2 separate regions of the Homo sapiens genome follow, and region 1 is linked to region 2. Evidence: promoter capture Hi-C in 16 types of primary human blood cells and fetal thymus (Javierre and others, 2016). All regions are on one chromosome and are shown on one strand. Each heading gives the region's core, a stretch centred on a gene start or on the middle of the fragment in contact. The rest is flanking DNA. Distances are from core to core; before and after follow the strand shown.

What was found. Contacts are between HindIII fragments. The CHiCAGO score rates a contact against its expected background, and 5 or more counts as called.
Region 1: a fragment that was not itself captured here is called in contact with the fragment with the promoter of KIAA0319 in region 2 in 1 of 17 cell types (neutrophils); the score reaches 6.1 in neutrophils.

Annotation. Positions count from the first base shown.
Region 1 is chr6:25,163,679-25,171,258 of GRCh38, forward strand. No RefSeq gene overlaps it. Among named protein-coding and RNA genes, the nearest start is that of CARMIL1, 110 kb to the right of the region's middle. The HindIII fragment of the contact is 6,105 bases long and covers 2,195-7,580 here.
Region 2 is chr6:24,644,177-24,650,971 of GRCh38, forward strand. It overlaps KIAA0319, which reads right to left and starts at 2,015. Exons shown (of 21, transcript NM_014809.4): 1 at 1,560-2,015. It overlaps TDP2 (tyrosyl-DNA phosphodiesterase 2), which reads right to left. Exons shown (of 7, transcript NM_016614.3): 7 at 5,803-6,795. The coding sequence ends at 6,612. RefSeq lists a silencer at 1,860-2,069. The HindIII fragment of the contact is 1,579 bases long and covers 1,212-2,790 here.

The sequences.
Region 1 (7,580 bases), core at 3,997-6,496, 520 kb after region 2:
AGGATGTGGAGAAATAGGAACACTTTTACACGTTGGTGGGACCGTAAACTAGCTCAACCATTGTGGAAGACAGTGTGGCGATTCCTCAAGGATCTAGAACTAGAAATACCATTTGACCCAGCCATCCCATTACTGGGTATATACCCAAAGGATTATAAATCATGCTTCTATAAAGACACATGCACAAGTATGTTTATAGCGGCACTATTCACAATAGCAAAGACATGGAACCAACACAAATGTCCATCAATGATAGACTGGATTAAGAAAATGTGGCACATATACACCATGGAATACTATGCAGCCATAAAAGTGATGAGTTCATGTCCTGTGTAGGGACATGGATGAAGCTGGAAACCATCATTCTCAGCAAACTATTGCAAGGACAAAAAAACCAAACACCGCATGTTCTCACTCATAGGTGGGAATTGAACAATGAGAACACTTGGACACAGGAAGGGGAACATCACACACCGGGGCCTGTTGTGGGGTGGGGGAAGGGGGGAGGGAAAGCATTAGGAGATATACCTAATGTAAATGACGAGTTAATGGGTGCAGCACACCAACATGGCACATGTATACATGTGTAGCATATCTGCATGTTGTGCACATGTACCCTAGAACTTAAAGTTCTAGGGTAATAATAATAATAATAATAAAATTTTAATAATAATAATAATAAAATAAAATAAAAAATTTAATAATAATAAAAAAAGACAATACATGCAGCGCACTGCTGAACATAGATGCTTATCAGTGGTTCTGCTTTTGTCCTTTGCCCTGTGATCTTTATTGGACCCTTATCAGTGGTTCTGCTTTTACCCTTTGCCCTGTCCCCTCAGAAGCATGTGATCTTTGTTGGACCCTTATCAGTGGTTCTGCTTTTTGCTCTTTGAAGCATGTGATCTGTGTACCTACTCTCTGTTCTTACACCCCCTCCCCTTTTGAAACCCTTAATAAAAACTTGCTGGTCTGAGACTCAGGCGGGCATCATGGTCCTACTGATACGTGATGTCACCCCTGGCGGCCCAGCTGTAAAATTCTTCTCTTTGTACTGTCTCCCTTTATTTCTCAGCCAGCCGACACTTATGGAAAATAGAAAGAAACTATGTTGAAATACTGGGAGCAGGTTCCCCCAATGCCTTATACTTTAGGTCTCAGTTCAATCAGTAGCCCCACTGGGAATTCCCTGACTCCCCATATAAGGTCAAATCCCACCGTGACACAGCCTCACATCACTTTCTCTCTCATCACTTTCAAACTGATTTTTTTTTTTTTTGAGATGGAATCTTGCTCTGTCACCCAGGCTGGAGGGCAGTGGCGTGGTCTCAGCTCACTGCAACCTCCGCTTCCCGGGTTCACACCGTTCTCCTGCCTCAGCCTCCTGAGTAGCTGGGACTACAGGCGCCCGCCACCACGCCTGGCTAATTTTTTGGTTTTTTTTTTTGGTATTTTTAGTAGAGACGGGGTTTCACCGTGTTAGCCAGGATGCTCTCGATCTCCTGACCTCATGATCCACCCGCCTCGGCCTCCCAGAGTGCTGGGATTACAGGCGTGAGCCACCGCGCTCAGCCAATAATTTCATTTTTAATTATGAGGTTGGTTGATTAATATCTGTGTCCCCTAGAAAACTGTAAGCTATGCAAGGGAAGGAACCAAGTTTGTTTTAGGTTTCCGTTGCACCCCCACAGCCTAGCGCACATGAGGATTTCAACAAATATTTGTTGAGAGAATAAATCAACATTGAAACTAATGGCTCACAACAGTCATTCTTACAACCCTTTTTATAAACCTGAGATTTAAACATGTCACCACTCCTAAAATATCTTTAGAACAGCTTTATATTTACTTGAGAACTAGAACTTAGCAAAATGTTATAATAATATGTGTTTAATTAAATATACTACAGAAAGCACCCCCCCCTTTATGACTAGGTAGTGGTCTAAATGTTTATTTTATACTGCACTTGATATTTTCCCATAAAAACAAGTTGCGAATGGCAAGTAAGTTCTAACCAGCCCACAAAAATCTTACTTACCCCATGAAGTAGTCAACATTGTATTGATTGGAGCTTTAAGACTAACTGCACTTTTGATCCATGAATTCAGTGTACCATTTAGTCCAGAGCACCCCTCAAGTCCAAACCCTGGGTCTTCCATGCCCATTCAGCCTTTAGTATCTCTCTGGATCCTAAAGCTTTCTGAGACCTGAGCAAAGCAGTAAGTAATGTCTTGACAGAAGGAAAGCTCCAAAAACAAGATCTGCTAGCAGCCACAGAAAAAAGAAGGGAAGTATACAGAAAAGGCAGTGTTGCTGATAAGGGGGTTGGGTAAAGTGGACAGGGTTGCAGAGAGGGCTCAAGCAGATAGAATATCAAGGGTAAGCAGGGTGCGATACAAGCAAGTTCTATACCCAAGTAACTGAGTGAATTGTAAATCAGGTGTTCTGAAGATGGCAAACACTATATATTTGAAAACTGTTTTAACATCCTAAATCCCTCCCCATCCCCCAGCAAGAACTCTCAATTCTTATATCTAGTTACAGAAGACGTGAAGACAAACCATCAAAAATAAATATCCTAAATTCAGTAGAAAAACAATACACACCATACCTTTGTTCCATTCCGAGTAGGCAGGGGCCAAACAGCACAAGAGCAGCTCCCCAGAGAAAGCTGAAATGGAGTGAGGTTGAAATCTTCTTTTAAATAACGTTTAAAACTTCTAGAAAGGTTGCAGCCTGAACAATTCAATTTGCTTGGTAACAAATTTAATCAGATTTTATTGTAGCCAGAAAACCTTTCCGAAAGTAATTACGAGAGCACAGCAGGCAAGAGCACAGCAGGCGAGTCAGACTTCTGGTGACATGAACACTCAGCCTGCTGATATGAATTTCAGTTGTCTTCATATATCTGCCAACCTTACCATTACCCTCCCAGCTCCACCCACAGAGCCTAGCAAAGAGCACTTCAGATAAACTCTGAATTCCCCACCAGCACAGGAGTATGAAGTGTGTACTTTAGATAAACTCCGAATTCCCCACCAGCACAGGAGTATGAAGGGTGTGTGTGTGTGTGTGTGTGTGTGTGTGTGTGTGTGTGTGTATGTGTTCATACATGTGTGTCTGAAAGCACATGTATGTTTTTGCAGATACATGAATGTAGTGTCAGAGGAGAAAATATTAAGGAGAACTTAATATATCACTCCCTAATTTTTTGTATCCTTCTGTAAGTCATCCTGTCATAAACACAGATTTTGGTTTTCTTTGTAATATAATAAGAATTGCTTTGTTGTAAAAGAAAAGACCTCTGTATAGTATTTCCCACCGGGGCATACAGTTTAGGCCTGGCCTCTGTTCCTTCCCGATCCCTACCCTCCCCTGACTGTACTGTCCTCTCAACCCTGAGGGCTCAGACTAGTGGGAATTCAGAATCCAAGTCTAAATCTCTTCAGACATCTGTATGCCACTTGGTTTATTTTCCCCAGTTTGATAAATATCCTGTCTTGCCCAGTCACTGTTTCAGCTCTAGCAAGCAGGTGTTCTATGTTTCTTTAAACAAACACAATACAGTGAAGAACTAGCTGGCATTGTGCCTGCCCAGGTATTTTCAAAAACTCACCTTAAGTCCTCCCCGCTTCATTAAAATCAATTCCTCCTTTTCCCACTGAGTGCTCTTTCTCCTGAATCCCTGGAGAATTCTGTGCCTCAAAATTTGCACTTAAAAAAAAAAAAAAGCAACACTAAATTCTCTTTTATGTTAGTCTTGTCTCTCCAACTAGATTATAAGTTTCCGAAGCACTGGCAATGTGACTTTGAACTTGTATTTACCACAACGTTTAAAATTCTGTGTAGGAAACAACTAAGCAATTCTCACGAAACAGCAAGAGGACAGTTGTAACCACATCTTATTCTAGTTGGAGAAATGTCTGATAGTAGGATAAAGGAAGAAAAGACTGCTATGTAGAGCAATTCTTCTAAGTAACACCTGCCCTCAAAATATCCTTTTCCTCTCCAAATCAAGAAGGTCTCTCAAATTATTCCTTCCCTAGTTCTAGATGACATCACATGACATTTTTTAAAGTGAGGTATGACTTACATATAGTAATGTGCACTAATCTTGAATGTATAGCTCTATGACTTTTTTACGCAGGTATACATTCATGTAACTACCTCCCACATCAAGATATAGAAAATTTCTAGGACTCCAGCTAACTCCTTCCCAGTCAACATCCACTCAAATGATAGCCACTCCTCTAATCTGTATCACCACAGACTGGTTATGCCTACTCTTAAATTTTGTATAAATGGAATCATATGCTGTTTTGTATCTGGCCTCTTTCTCCTACCATTATGATTGTGGGATTTATCCATATTGTAAACATATTTCATGTTATGTGCATATTTTATTGCATGTTAAATAAATTCTACGTAAGCCTCACATAGGAAAAGAAAGCAGGAAACCACCAGAAGGAACTGAACCCTGAGATGCACAATTGCTTAGGGAACCCACAGGATTTGCCAACATTGAGAAAAATAGACCTCTGATTAGAAATAAAAGCCATCTATTTTCTCTTATACAAGAAACATTAGACATATGGGAAAAATTAGCTGCCAGAAATAAGCTGAACAATCAGGGCAAAGATATCTTTCTGCAAGATAGATTTAGTAAAGAAAACAAGGAAGAATTTTCAGAAAAAGAAATTTAGTGCATCAAGGAATAAAAAGGGATTATAATAGCAGGAACCTGAATTCTCTGAAGGAGAGAACAGGTGTGGCAACATCTTTTTGACTTAAATATCAGATAGAAACAAAGAGGACTTTAGAATTCAGGTAAAGGGAGTTCTGTCTGGAAGATAAGAAAGGCAGAGAACAGAGGCCCTTTCTCTTTTTTGATTTCCAACTTTTAAGTTCAGGGGTACATGTTCAGGATGTGCAGGTTTGTTACACAGGTAAACACGTGCCATGGCAGGTACTGCACAGACCATCCCATCACCTAGGTACTAAGCCCTGCTAGCATCCATTAGTGATTCTTCCTTTCAACAGGACAGAAGAGGAGCCTTGTTAGTAAGGTGGTAGGTGACAAATCCCTGGTAATGGGGCAGATGGAGGACTTTTTAAAACACATGAATACTCTCTGGAGAGCTGTGACGCCACCCTTTTCGCCACCTCAGACCTTCAGCAAAGTGTGTCCACACAAGGTGAATGGAATGAAAGAATGCCATTTGGGGAACACAAAGGAAAACGATGTGTTCCATGTCTGCACCAGGACAGGCTGTAAGAACAGACTCTAAGAAGAGGTACAATTAGGAAATCTAGGACAAAGAAAATTGGACCTAGGTGGGGACCAAGTACAAAACCTCTTGGAATTGAAAAGAAAAAAAAAAAACAGGAGTTAGGGGAGGCATTAAACTTCCCATCAAGAATGGGATGAAGAGCCAGACATTTTATTTAAATCTCAAAGGGAGGGGTAATTTTCAGGAAGGTGTCACATAAATGAAAAGGGGTAACAAAAAAGGAGAGAACAAAAGGATTTTTCCAGTAAAATCATGGGCGCCAAAACAAAACAAAAAAATAGTGGAGATCTTAAGTAGCAGAATAATATGCCAAAAACCAAACCTGGCAACTGTGAAACAGATAACCAATTTAAGGAATCTCCTAAAAAACAGAGAAGTTATGAAAGAAAATTAAGAAACAGGAAGAATAATATATGATAACTTCTACATAACAGAAATTCCAGAAAACAAATGAAGGAATGATCAAGAATAAGTTAACATTTTTCTCAATAGAAGAAAATCTAGATTTCATATTTAAAGAATCTAAGGATTGTTGGGCAGGAATACTGAAAAAAGCCATATTACAGATAATCTGTTGAAATTTGTAAATGACAGAAAAGAATCCTACAAGAAATCCTACAAACTTCCAGAACACTCCCCCACCCTCCTCACACTCACTTCTCCCAACAAAAGACACTCCAACACCTTCACCAAAATCAGGTGTCTGCCAAGTGCAAAGAAACCAGTGGACATTGCTCTCTTATTTGGAAATAAAATGCCAGGAGACCCAATGGAGTGATGTTTACAGAATTCTGAGGGAGAATTCTACAGCCAAATGGTGACTCAAGTGTGGCTGTAAAAATAAAGGCCTTTTCAGACTTGTAAGGACTCTGAACACACAATTTCCAACTGTGGTCTCAGAAATCAGTTCCACAGTATACTGTTCCCCTCAGCCTCAGAGTCTTTGGTGAATCTCCAGGTGACAGAGAGTTTCATCTCCCAAAGAGGCCCTCCAGTCTTCTCTGGTAAAGGTTTTAGATACTCTCGCCTTCCCAGACATCTGAGCTTCATTTTCTCCTGTGTCTCCAGAGCTCTTTTTGCTTTTTTTTTTTTCCCTTCTATTCTGTCCGACCTTAGCTATTACTGTTTTTCAGGTGTCCTTGACTCACCATTCTCTTATTACAGAGACTACGTCTGTCTTACTCATTTGTTTCCAAAACCTCCTCGAGTAAAAAGAGGAATTTGCTGGAAGGGTCTGGGGAGATCTCGAAAAACCCAGCATAGAAACCTTAGCCCATCTGGCCTCATGCAAGGCCGGAGTCTCAGGCTCTAATGTCAGCACTAGAGAAAAACACGTATCTTCCTTCTCTTCCTGTGTCTCCATGGTGTGGGAGAGGAGGGAAGAAGAACTAACCTGAACGGCCAGCCACAGGCATTCACAGGGTCAGGTGCATGGTGGGCAGGGCCACTGAGCTGAGTAGCATCTTCTACGTCTGTGTTCCACCCAGGAGTGGGGGCAGTGAGGGGAGCAGGCCTGGAGATTTTAGGCTACTGGTGGGCCTCAGAATCTCCTCTGCAAGGACTTTAGAACTTCCAAGTCTCAAAACAGAAATCCAGAATGGGTAGTAGAAGACCCCTCTTAAGCCTCTAAGTCATGTACTCTGTCTTTTATCAAAGAAGGCTACACTGGGATTTTTAAGATATTGTGCTGATTAATAAAAATCATTCTTTCCACCCATTTGCAACTGAGTCTTTGTGTGGGTGCCTGCCTTAATTTCTAGAACCTAGAGAACTCTCTCCCTAAGTAGCCTTAGTGAAACCTGAATTCTTTCTAGGACTGTGCTAGATTTTGGAAGGCAAGCACTACACTATCTTCTTTTTGTTGCTCATATCTGGCCAAGAGCCTAGATCAGTGGTACACAGTAAATGTTTAATAAATGTTGATCAGCAAACAATATCTTAGCATATTCATTTCTTGGAAGTATTAACTAGTTTGCTTTTGTAACACCTTTTAGTCCAGCTTTCATTTTCCATTTTCCCTTCCTGAAAACACTCAAAGGCCATTTCTGTCTCATTTTATCATTCCTGGAAGAATATCACCCAAGTATATCAGGCAGTTTTAAGTCTTTTCAAAATTCATGGAAATAAGTATGGAATAATTTTTACCAGCCAATATTAATGGCAGTGCAGAAGAAAAATACAAATGCAATATAATTGTTTCACTGAATTTCTTAATTTTTATGTCTGTGTTAAATTTAACAGCAACTGAGTGGGGAAAGATTTCAGGTCATCTTTTCATTGTTCCATTCA
Region 2 (6,795 bases), core at 765-3,264:
CCCGTCTGAGTGAGTGGGTGTGTCTGTGAAAGTGCACCCTGTGATGGGATAGCTTCCTGGACAGGGGAGAGGGGGGGGTTCCCACTCTGAACCAGGGAGACTCTGGCTACCCATGACCTTGAACTGTAATAATTGGGTAAATAATGATCTTGTTTTTACTAATCCTTCTTAACTGTATGTATAGATCCCATTTATTTCTATGTTTAATATTAGAAGTGTTGTGGTCTTTATTTAGAAGTTTGGTGATTTTTTTATGACCAGAAATATGCTGTAGGAACTTAACTCTTGTTTATATCAATTAGCCTGTGGTAAAATTGGTTTCCTTATACCTCGTTGTGCTTAAAGGTTCACAGTTTCCAAGAACGTATCAAGAATGTTAAGTGAGGACTTACTGTATTTATTTAAAGAGAATGCTTCCTATCTATTGGCTAGGGAAAAAAAAAAAGTCAAGAAAATTTAACAGCAACTCTATTCTTTTACATTCATACATTACCAAAGCTCTCTTTTGGCTATTTTTAATTCATAAAGATTTTGGCTGAATTATTTTCATTATTTCGAAACAAAAATTAAGTTCTTGCCTCGGCATTTTGCATTACAAATGCAAATGCATTACAAATGGTTAATACAAATAAATCAGAGTACTTAGGTAATATGTTTACATTTCCCTTTTTCAAATTACAGAGGAATTCACCTTTCTCTGTGACTCCTACGTCTATAACTGAACTGACACCTCCAGTTTTCCTCATCTGAATTAAAAATAATACTAAAAAAAGCACAAAATAAAAGTTTAGATTTGGCATAACTTTAGTAGTCTCTACAATTGTGGTCTTCTTATAATAAATTGAAGCATTTGGAAAGTGAGCATGTATTTCAGGAATAAAGAAATAAATACCAACATTTACTTCCAAAATTCTTGTGTGTGGGGGGGAACATTGTCTACAATTTATTTTTTCTGTTACTATCAAAAACATCATTCAACTTTTCAATTCAAGCAGTGGAAAAAATACTAACATTTCACCGACAAACAAAAATGTTTTGATGAACAAACCAGCAATAAAAGTGCACATGAGTATGTATATCATATTTTTCCTCCTTGTATTTAATTAACAAATGACCTTAAGATGATAACTCTCAAAATTTCAGGTTTATCCTCCCGATTAATTTGTGACATTCCTTGGAGGGAATTCAAAGGGAAGAAGAGAAAGATTTTAAGCTTCAGGTTATGGTAAGGAACAGAGACAAAATGCATTTAGCAAATAATAGGAAAGATCACATAAATAGTTCTGAATGAAGTTTAAAGAAAACGATTCCTTACTTCTAAAAAAATGCAATTCGTGAGGTTGGGAAAAGACACTCAAATTTCCCCGACTCCACCCTACTAGTCAACAATCAGTGCAGCAATCAAAAAATGCCCTTTCCTGAATGCCCAGAAGAATCTTAAGAAACTCACCTTCTGAACTCAGGGCGTCTCGATTCTACTTTTGTTGGGTATTGGCCTGCCTACTGGCTGCCCTCTTTCCTATTTCTCGGCCAGGCGCTCTGGGAAGTAGATACCGTACCTGTGGTCACTGCTGGCGACACTGAAGCTCGCCCCATGCGTTGCTGCTGGCCCTGAGCATCACTCGCCGTCCCACTTGTTCCTCCTCGTCGTCATCGCAGGTCTTACACACACACACACACACACACACACACACACACACACACACACACACGTTCACACCCTCGCGCGCGCACCTGCTGTTAAGAGGTACAGCCCCACCCCAGCAAAATCCTCGCTTCCTCTTCCCCGGGACGTAGCCCCAGAGGAGCGAATCTGGACCAAGCCCAAGACAGGCTGAAGCTACTGCTGCGCTCTCACCTCCGGCAGTGACAGCGAGCGCCGCCGCCGCTCTGCGCGGGGCCAGCCAGGCCCGCCGAGGGCAGCACAGGTGGAGCAAGGTTGCACCCCCGGGGGATCCCCGCCCACCGCCCGCGGCAGCTTCTGCAGGCTCGGGGAAAGCGCGCGCCAGTGATTCAGCGCCTTTCCGCCGCCGCGGTTACCACGGCGACGCGCGCGCACGCGCACACACGCCCTCAGGGATGTGGGGCGCGGCAGCCGCCCCTGCCCAGCTCCCCTGCTCAGCTCCCCTGCTCAGCTCCCCGGTTGCGCTCTAAGTACCCGCACCGGGGCGACACACTCCCACCCCGCAGGGGACCAAGCAAAAGTCTTTCGTGAACCTGAGCGGCCTTCATACCCTACCTGCTTTCCTTCACCAAGCCCTTCCCTGTCACCGTGGCCCTAAACAGTCTGGGGGATGAACACTCCTTCCAAATAAACACCCGGGCCAGGGTGGCTCAAGGGAGCCGTGGGTGCACTGCCTGGGTCAAACACCCTTCGCGAATGTGTCCCCCAGCTTGTCCCCAGCTTGTGTCACCCCAGCTACACAAGTTCCATTCTTCCAGTGGGAGTCTCTTTGGCCCCTACTCTGTAATTATCTTTCTATTTTGAGCAGGTGCTTTCTGACTGAGACTGGGAACCTGTGCTAGGAGGGGCTCCCATCACCTCCAGGCCTTGCAGGTTAACTGGATGCCCAGTATAGTTTGACATTTGCATCTTGAGGAACGTGATAATCTAAACCACAGAAAACTTGGGTGGAAGACTCTTGCATTTTTACTGTTTTAATAAAGATGCGAAAGCATCTAGGGATAATATCATGAGCAGAAAAGGTAGCCAGGGCATTCCTCGCACATCTCATTACTAGGAGGTATAAGTGCAGTGCTTAGGGCTGAGTCACACACTGTTGATGAATAAGCTTCTTGGCTACTCGTATTTACCGAAGAGCCTCAGACAAGTTACCTAATCTAGATAAACCTGTTTCCTCAATTATAAAATGAAGATAATAGCATTCATATAGGATGATTCTGGGAATCAAATAAGATAATGCACATTTAAAGAGTAAAAACCAGCTGGGTGCGGTGGCTCACGCCTGTAATCCTAGCACTTTGGCAGGCCGAGGCGGGCGGATCACGAGGTCAGGAGATCGAGACCATTCTGGCTAACACGGTGAAACCCCCGTCTCTACTAAAAATACAAAAAATTAACCGGGAGTGGTGGCCCGCGCCTGTAGTTCCAGCTACTTGAGAGGCTGAGGCAGGAGAATCGCTTGAATCCAGGAGGCGGAGGTTGCAGTGAGCCGAGATCGTGCCACTGCACTCCAGCCTGGGCGACAGAGCAAGACTCCGTCTCAAAATAAATAAATAAATAAATAAATAAATAAATAAATAAATAAATAAATAAATAAAAACTAAAGAGTAAAAACCTGTCCAGGACTCAAAGAGTGAAAATCAGCTTGGACTTGGAAAAGTTAGTACTGCCAATGATCAATGATCAGGCTGAGAGGACAAAGTCAGAAGCAAAATTAACAGGCAATGTTGTTTCCTCTGAAGTCACGCAGCAGGTACAAAACAACACAACTCCTTGTGTTCCATTTTTGAATGACTACTACTTTCTACCTTTGCTTTACTATTCCCATCCATAACTGGGGATACCCAATTGCTAAACTCCCTTCACCTCCTGACAGCACCCAATCCCTCATTAATCCCCCTTTCTCTCAATCTGCCTCAGAAACAGCAACCAACTGGATCCCAGCTCTGATTCCAAGACTCTCCCTGGAATCCTTTAATAGGAAGCCAAATCTTTACAAAAGACACTTCCTCCTTTCTGTGCTCACATGGCATTCCACAGGTACTCTTTCAATGCATCAAGCCAATGAATCTGATTTTGTCCCCAACGATCCTTGGCTGATTAGCCTTTAAAGAAACATATTTTTAGCACATACACACACACACAGGCTTAGCCCAGAATGTTTAACTATACCATCTTTTTAACTCAGAGACACTGTAATGAATATCTATTTTCATTTTTAATGAATATATCTATTTTGGTATTGTATGAAAATGTTAGTCTCCTTCTTTAGGACACAGATGTGAGGCTACTACCTTTCACTTCTTTTCAGCATTCAGTGGACATCCATTGAGCTCCTACTATATGCCAGACACTGCAAGAGGTAGTAAGGATAAAATGATGTATCCTTAGTATAATTAACTTTGTCTGCTCTTGCTTATGCTTTTGGTTGGGACATTTGTACAATAAAAGATAACTTATTTTGAGGGTGGGTAAAACTGAGGTTTAGGAAGGTTAAAGTACATTCCACATCAGTGGTAAAAATGGTGCTTAGCGTAATGACAGTGCTGCCTCATTGAAATACAAGACTTTAGGCCACGTACAGTGGCTCATGCCTATAATCCCAGCACTTTGTGGGCGAGGCAGGAGGATTGAGTGAGCCCCGGAGTTCGAGGCCAGCCTGGGCAACATAGCAAGATCCTCTCTGTACAAAAAACAAAAACAAATAAAAAGTAGCTGGGTGTGTGGTGCACACCTGTAATCCCAGCTACCCAAGAGTCTGAGGCTAGAGGATCACTTGTGCCCAGGAGGTTGAGACTGAAAAAAAAAAAAAAAAAAACCCAGAAGATTCTATGTTGGAATTTCACTAAGCAGGAAGGTAAGGCAAGCAAAGCTACTACACTGGAAAAACTTTGAAAAATTCCAAGTAAAAAACTCAAGATATAGCAAATTAGTAGGTTAATTCATTGATAACTATTGCTCATGAAAGCAGACTAAAAGTGGTTTTTTTTGAGACAGTCTTGCTCTGTCGCCCAGGCTGGAGTGCAGTGGCACGATCTCGGCTTACTGCAACCTCCGCCTCCCAGGGTCAAGTGATTCTCCTGCCTCAGCCTCCTGAGTAGCTTGGATTACAGGCACGTGTCACCACGCCTGGCTAATTTTTGTATTTTTAGTAGAGATGGGGTTTCACCATGTTGGCTAGACGAGTCTTGAACTTCTGACCTCAGGTGATCCACCTGCCTCGGCCTCCCAAAGTGCTGGGATTACAGGCATGAGCCACTGCACCCAGCCGATAATCCTTTATTTAATCTAGTATACTACACTGTATTTTTTTTTTAAGAATTTAGACTTTCACCCATCTATGTTTTGCAATGTGATCTGAAGTTCTAACTTAGCTCTTCTAAATGAAAGCAATTTATGCCAGAATAACCCTTTTCCCACAGAAATGTACTATTGTATTACCTCTATGATGTATGCTACTCTACTATTAACATCTATTCTCATTTTTTATTTTATTTTTGAGATGGAGTCTCACTCTGTTGCCCAGGCTGGAGTGCAGTGGCACGATCTTGGCTCACTGCAAGTTCTGCTTCCTGGGTTCGTGCCATTCTCCTGCCTCAGCCTCCTGAGTAGCTGGGACTACAAGCACTCGCCATCACGTCCGGCTAATTTTTTGTATTTTTAGTAGAGACAGGGTTTCACCGTGTTAGCCAGGATGGTCTCGATCTCCTGACCTCGTGATCCACCCGCCTCAGCCTCCCAAAGTGCTGGGATTACAGGTGTGAGCCACTGCACCCGGCCCTCATTTTTTATTTTTAATGATTAAAATTATGATTAACATTTAAACTTTTTCGTTGTCACTACAAAGGGAATATTATATATAAATATCTTTTTTTAGGTGTTTAAATTTTGGCACTCCTGATATAAATAAGATTCTATTACTTCTAATTATTCTCGCTGGCTTTTTTTCAGACAAAGGAAGCAGATATATTCTTGGTAATTCTTGGTGGAGTGAGAAGCAAATGGAAATCTGTTTTCTTCTACACAAAGAGGAAGAAGCAGCAGTAGAGCCAGAAGCAGGAAGCAGATAAAAAATTTAATCTCATCATGGACACAAAAACATACTAAAACAAACCATAAACAAATAAAATTCTTTATTTAAATTTCTCTTGTGGGGAAAATATTTTTCTTTAAAGCACACTTAAAAGTAATTTGCATTTACTTCCTGTAAAGCATTTCCATTTCACAATTAGCAAAACTAAAAGGCTATGTCTCTTCATGCATTTATTTTTGTTAGAAAAATGTCCCATGGTGCTATCAAACCGATTTTAACCATCATCAAGCTTAACTTTGCCTCTGTTGACAACATGACTACAAACATGAATCAAAAAGGAGTTAAGGAATTTTAAGCCATAAGGTTTCAATTATAGCTTACCAATTATGTAATTAGCTGACAAAAATCAAGTCTGATGTAGAATAGCTGTCATCTACTTAACTGCAGATAATCATGGCATTTTCATTTAAGATGATCTGAACTTATGAAATAAAGGATCCAGTCCCAAGAACTCAATAATCTCTTATGTTTTCTTTTGAAGACTTATTTCAAATATTAACTATTTCGGTGCCTGAATGGAAAAATATAAACATTAGCTCAGAGACAATGTGGTACCTGTTTGGAATCCAGCTGGCAGCTATAAGCACCGTTGAAAACTCTGACAGGCTTTGTGCCCTTTTTATTAAATGGCCTCACATCCTGAATGCAGGAATGTGTTCGTTTAAATAAACATTAATCTTTAATGTTGAATTCTGAAAACACAACCATAAATCATAGTTGGTTTTTCTGTGACAATGATCTAGTACATTATTTCCTCCACAGCAAACCTACCTTTCCAGAAGGTGGAAATTGTATTTGCAACAATCAGGGCAAAACCCACACTTGAAAAGCATTTTACAATATTATATCTAAGTTGCACAGAAGACCCCAGTGATCACTAGGAAATCTACCACAGTCCAGTTTTTCTAATCCAAGAAGGTCCAAACTTCGGGGAATAATGTGTCCCTCTTCTGCTGCTGCTCTGAAAAATATTCGATCAAAACGAAGTTTACAAGCAGCAGTTATTCCAAGATTAGAG